Linked DNA regions of Homo sapiens: region 1 is linked to region 2. The links are contacts of gene promoters, found by promoter capture Hi-C in blood cells and fetal thymus (Javierre and others, 2016). All regions are on one chromosome and are shown on one strand. The core of a region is centred on a gene start or on the middle of the fragment in contact, and the rest is flanking DNA. Distances in the headings are between cores, read along the strand shown. Region 1 has its middle 11 kb from the start of COL14A1. Region 2 holds the start of DSCC1 (DNA replication and sister chromatid cohesion 1).

What was found. The method cuts DNA at HindIII sites, captures the fragments that hold promoters and counts their contacts. A CHiCAGO score of 5 or more calls a contact.
Region 1: a fragment that was not itself captured here is called in contact with the fragment with the promoter of DSCC1 in region 2 in 1 of 17 cell types (monocytes); the score reaches 5.0 in monocytes.

Annotation. Positions count from the first base shown.
Region 1 is chr8:120,112,479-120,115,493 of GRCh38, forward strand. No RefSeq gene overlaps it. Among named protein-coding and RNA genes, the nearest start is that of COL14A1, 11 kb to the right of the region's middle. The HindIII fragment of the contact is 605 bases long and covers 1,054-1,658 here.
Region 2 is chr8:119,854,467-119,857,353 of GRCh38, forward strand. It overlaps DSCC1 (DNA replication and sister chromatid cohesion 1), which reads right to left and starts at 1,428. Exons shown (of 9, transcript NM_024094.3): 1 at 1,148-1,428. The coding sequence starts at 1,329. It overlaps LOC105375728 (a long non-coding RNA gene), which reads left to right. Exons shown (of 4, transcript XR_928590.3): 2 at 209-336; 3 at 940-1,413. RefSeq lists an enhancer at 1,100-1,409 and a silencer at 1,520-1,579. The HindIII fragment of the contact is 2,867 bases long and covers 1-1,937 here.

The sequences.
Region 1 (3,015 bases), core at 106-2,605, 260 kb after region 2:
AGCAAACTTTTAGGAAGTGCTTACTAAGTAATAGGTGAAGAGCCTTCCAGATATTATAAAATTAAATCTCCTAAACACGATAAGAGGTAACTATAACTACCATGCTACAATGTGGATAAAGTAACATGTCTGGCTCTGACTTCAGAACTCACATCCTTAATCTACATTATAAAGTTTGTCCAGGAGGTTGAGTGGACATAAGATAGGAAAGTTAGGCTAAGGCAGACACGGAGGAACTTGATTACTAAGCTAATATATTTACACCTTATTCTGTTTAAAGGAGCCACCACTGGGAGGATCAGAGCAGGTGAAGGATGTAAGTAAAGTGGGTTTGCTCCTGCAGGAATATACAGACTGTTGATCTCAACCTTGGCTGTGTGCTAGAATCACTGAGAAGATTCTGATAAAATACCCATGTCTGCCCCTGCTCCTGGTCAGCTAAATAAGACACTCTGGGTTGCTCATTTCCCTCATTTACTTAAAACTTTCCATTGCCAAGATATAGTCAAAATACTTACCTTGGCATACAAGGTTGTCCAAGGTCTGATCCTTGTTCACCTCTTGTGTCTCACATCACCCATCTTTATTTATTTATTTATTTATTTATTTATTTATTTATTTAGAGACAGGGTCTTGCTCTGTCACCCAGGCTGGACTGTGGTGGCGTGATCTGGGCTCACTGCAACCTGTGCCTCCCAGGCTCAAGCGATCCTCCCATCTCAGCCTCCAGAGTACCTAGGACTATAGGCACGTGTCATCATGCCTGGCTAATTTTTAATTATTATTATTATTATTATTATTATTATTATTTTGTAGAGATAAGGTCTTATTCCCAGGCTGGTTCCCAACTCCTGGGCTCAAGTGATCCTCCCAAAGTCTTGGGATTACAAAGGCTCTGAGCCACTCCACCTGGTCTTAAGTCTCTCCTCTGATTTCACCAAACTCTGCTCATTCAAAATAATTTGGGCCTATGCAAGCTCTCTCTTGCCCGATGACTTTGTTTTCTTGTTCTTTTTTTCAATTGTTTGGTTGAAAACCCAAGGACTTAATAAAAGCTTTTCTTTCTTTTCAGAATGCTTTTGTTTCATATCTTCTCAAGGCTGGCTGTCTCTCTTTTTGTCAGCCTAAAGGTCACCTCCTCACCTATGTACTTCTTGATCATTCTACCTGAATAAGTTGCATAATACCTGCACTCTTGCCCCTCAGCCCGCTACCATCAGAGCACTTCATGTTTTGTCAGTGTGTGTTTGTGTAGCTGGACTCTAGACTCCACAAGGCCAACGGACTTGTTTTGCTCACCCCATGCATACTCAGAGCCCAGCAGTAATATCTGTGGCATAAGTTAATGAGAAGGCATATCTTGAATAACTTAGTTAATGTCACCCAACTCATGAGGGCAAAGCCTGGAGACGAACACAAGCTCGAAACCATCATGGTGCTCTGCTGGAATATGGTGGTTTGCTCATTCATTCTTGCTTTTGTTCATTCATTCAGAGAACATGTTTTGGATTGATAATATATGCTAAGCCAGGTGCTAGGGACACAGATAAAATGGTCATTGATCCTGAGAACATAATCTGGACAACTTTAAGTGAATACAGTCACAGAGGGAGCAGGGCACTGCCAACTGATTTCAGTGCTCAGCTTGGTTTCCTCTAAGCTTCTGTACTGAGGCTATTACAGGGTAGAGAAATTCTCAGTCTAGTGGCCCATGGTGAATTTTCAGACAAATCTGAAGGTTTTGGATTGAAATAGTAAAAAGTTTGAGAACAAAAGTTTCATCAATTAATTAACACGTCAAAGGGCACAGATCAGAAGAGATACTAACTTGAACCACAACTTACATGAATAACAGCTGAAAACAAAACAAATAACAAATTTCGCAGAACACTTCACCACAGCATAATGAACAGAATTTTCCAAAACCTAGACCCATATGAGATTTTCTATCTCATGCGTTCTCTGTCTCTCTGCTCTCTCAATTCTCTAAAAGAAGAGATCTCTGTGGTTTTCTCTTTATTTCTAGCTCTGTGTGCTTCTCATTTCTCTGGAAAATCTAAAATGTCCTCAGAGAGGACTTTCTGGCCCTCTTCAATCTTCCCAAGGCTGATTCTTGAAATGCTGCCTTAGGATGTCTTTCCTTTGGTTTAAAGTTTTGCTCCTATTAATATTTTAAATTTCTTTGTAGTCTCAGTGGATATATCTTGGTGGTTATATGTTATCCAAAATTTTTTTCTGGGGTGTAGGTTCTTGGAGGAAGTCTCACCAGAGGCCTGAGGCTAGCCTTGGTGAATCTATGGACTATGCTGTATATGGAAGCAACAGCCTGAATAGCAGGAAATAATCTGAGACGTAGCTTTAGGCTCGATGTACAATGCAATCACCACTTCTTTCTTTTCCTTTAGCAACATATTGGCTTGACCAATAGGCAACAGGTAACAGGTAACAATGCTTCATCCTTGTCATCAGTTTTTACTGTTTTTTGGGGGTGTGTGTTATTATTGTGGCTTCTTCAGAATAGTCAAGTAATTTTCCTTAAAAGAGAAAAAATAGGCAACATGAAATTAAGTTGATTAAAAGAATGTGAATGGGAAAATAGATCAGCATAGTGTTAAGGATATTAGCTTTGGTGACATTTGAATTCTCACTTCCATTTACAGACTCCATAGTAATCTTGGTAATCTCCTCTCTCCACCCTAGTTCCCTCTTCTGCAAATAAAGAGTGTAATAGTACCACTTTATAGACCCCCTAGAGATGCTTCTTAGCTGGTCTACTCTTCTGGTAAGGGCATGAGTCTCATCAGGGGCGCTCGACCCTCATGACCTCATGACCCTCATGGCCTCATTACTTCCCACAGGCACTACTTCCAAATACCATCTTATTGGGGGTTTGGGCTTCAACCTATGAATTTTGGGAGGACAGAAATATTCAGCCCAGAGCCATGGGATAAAAAGAGTTGGTGCTAAAATAAGAAGGATTGGGTGGAAGATGTTTAAGAGGGCAAATTTCTAGTC
Region 2 (2,887 bases), core at 178-2,677:
AAAGAATAAAAGGTTTTTTAGATTCCTAATGCTAATAATGCTTAATAGGCCCAAGTACCTAGTCTTTAACATTTATTTCTCTAACTGCACTACCCCCACTTTGAAATATTTTGTTTATACCATCACTCCCTACACCCCAAAATTAAAAACACACGTTTCCAGGGCCTGTTTTTATTTTTTTGTTTTTGTTTTGTTTTGTTTTTGCCAGCTAGATTAACTAGAACTGGACCGAGAGAAAGTCCTCACACCTGAGTTCCTTTCTCAACTCTCCACCAACTGAACCGGGATGGAAACAGACTAGTGAAGTTCTTTCAGTTCCCTTAAAGGTACTTTGAGGTATATAGCAGGTATCTGAAGAATGGCCAGTTTACTCTAACACTCTTTGGTGGGCAAAGTACGAAAACTGAAAGACAGCCTAAAGGATTCCATTAAGAAAAAAGAGAAAAAATAGCCTAATAAAATATAGGTGTCGGAGGACCAATTGTGCAAAAGAGAATCAAGCTGGAGCTCCCTATTTTGCAGGAGCTGGGGCTGCACAGGGTGGAGGGATATAACGATTCTCTAGACTTCTCAAGACTGCCTTTAAAAAACTACCTCAACTTCGACTTCTAATCAATGATCTTGCAGCAAGTTTGTATCTGACCTGGAATTAGAAACAGCTTCAGATCCCTACTAAGCAAGTTTGCTTCGGGGTGGGTAGGGGTCTCACCCAATTACCAAGTCTGTAAGCTGATTCCCAGCACTTCCTATCTATCATCTGAGTAAAATAAATATAAGTGGAAGGCAAGAGTTCTATAAACATTGGGTATCACCACTGTATTTTAAGGTAGAGTGACAGGTGTCCTGTAGAGTCCCTGTAATCACCGGTAACTCTTCAAAAACTTCACGGAGGTTGTATTAGTATTTCCTGACTTGCTCCCGCTGACACATGCCTCCAAGGTCAGCTGGACCAGTGCTACTCATCACCGCAGTGCAGCTAACTGGACGGCCCACCGGAGGCGTGGACTCCTCGGGAACAGGCAGCTTGCTATGAGCCCCCGGCCAGGTCAGTGCATCTCTCTGGCCCTGTTTTCTTATCCCGACTTTCCCCGCTGAGAAAATAACGTGGCCGGCCAGAGGCTGGGGGCGCCGCGTGACCAGGGCTCACCTGTGTCCATCCTCCAGCTGCTGGCACAGCGTGGGCTCCAGCTCCAGCAGGCAGAAGTCGCCGGCTGCAGCGCCGCTGGCCCCAGGGCCGAAGCCCAGGCAGTGCACCGCCGGCAGCAGCTCGGCCGCATTCAGCTTGGCGATCTGCAGCGTCGCATCCACCTCGTCGCGGGTCCTCTTCATCGCAGCGCCGGGTCTAGGAGTCCCGCCGCGCCCGGGTGGCTGCGGGCTTGGCGGGCAAGAAAGAAGTTCCCAAGCAGCCGGAAGGTAGGAAACCTGAGCGTTTGAAAGCGCGCCAAGGCGGCCATGGGCGTGTTTCCGGGGCGGAGCGCGCTGCGGGCCCGCCCGCGGGAAGGCCTGCCGGCTTCTGGGAGCGCGAGCCCCTCCGTGCCCCACGCCGGACCGCGACTGCAGGAAGGAAACGCGGCTTCCCGGGGGGCGGTCTCGGCGGAAGCTCGCAGGGGCAGAGCTGCGACTCGGCGGGTTGGGACACGGATCCCTCGCCCACCCTTTCCGCTGTCCCCTTGCCCGCCCCCCATCCCCGATCTCCGTCCCTGGTTTCCAGCCGATGCTCCCATTTCCTCGCCGTCCACATTGTCTCACCTTCCGCCAGTGGCGGGCCCTGTGATAACCACTTGGCATGTATAATTCCATGAGCCCGTTGCCACAACCCTGTAAGGTGGTGCCTTGGTCATTCCCTTTTGCCAATGAGGAAGCAGGCTCCTTGCTCGTGATGGCAGAGTCAGGAGGTAACAGAGTCTGACTCCAGCCTAGCCGACTGTGGCTCTAAAAGCTTCCTGCGGGGTTTTGTGCAAATAACCCATGCTCGGGAGCGAGGCCCTGGGAAGGAGTATCTCGCTTCTTTGGGTCAGGGCACCATCATATCTGGAGACAACGGCGGGACTAGTCTATTCGTTGAATACCTAGTGTTAACCGAAAAGTGACTGATGCAGGTCTCGTTCAATAGAGGTTTATTTAAGCAAGGTTGAGGACGCACCCGAAGGGAAAAACAAGTCACAGGAGCATCTGTGACTTGTACATTTTCCAAAGGTTTGGGGAACTTCAGTATTAAGAGTTTTAAGAGAAAAGGTTTTCACTATGCACACATACATGAATTGCTTGTAACAGCGTAATGTGTAAACTTTCCCAGAGATGCTTAGGGAATCGTTGAGGGCCCTGGCTGTCCCTGAGAGCTAAAATAGTCTGGGAGGAATCACTTAAGAGATGGTGACCTCCTACTAGTTAGTGCAAATCAGACCTTGCTTGAAGTGAAAGAAAGTGGTGGGTAAGGTGTTGAATTCAAAGGATCTGAGCAGACATTTTTTTCAATTCTTGGGTAAAATGATACGAAAATACCAGAGTAGGGCATCCCAGGAGTCTGGGCAGTGCTTTCGTTGGTGGTGGAAAGATTGGTTCATGTGACCTACTTCTTCACTAGCCTCTTTTACATTTGAATGCATAGGAATTCGGTGGAATGAAATCCTGAATGTGACAGTGGTTGCCTGATAAGAAGTTATTATTGAAGGGAATCAACCATTGTAGTTGCTCTATTAAATGGGAAACATTCCCTACAACTAGAAGCAGTGTCAACTAGAACCCTGACATTTACATCAGACAGGCATGGCTGCGAATCCCAACTCTCTTCAGAACTTTGTGACCTAAGGCAATTTACCTAATTTCTCTGAGTACAACTTCCTTATCGATAAAAAAGCACATAAGACCTACATTCTTAAGATGTACA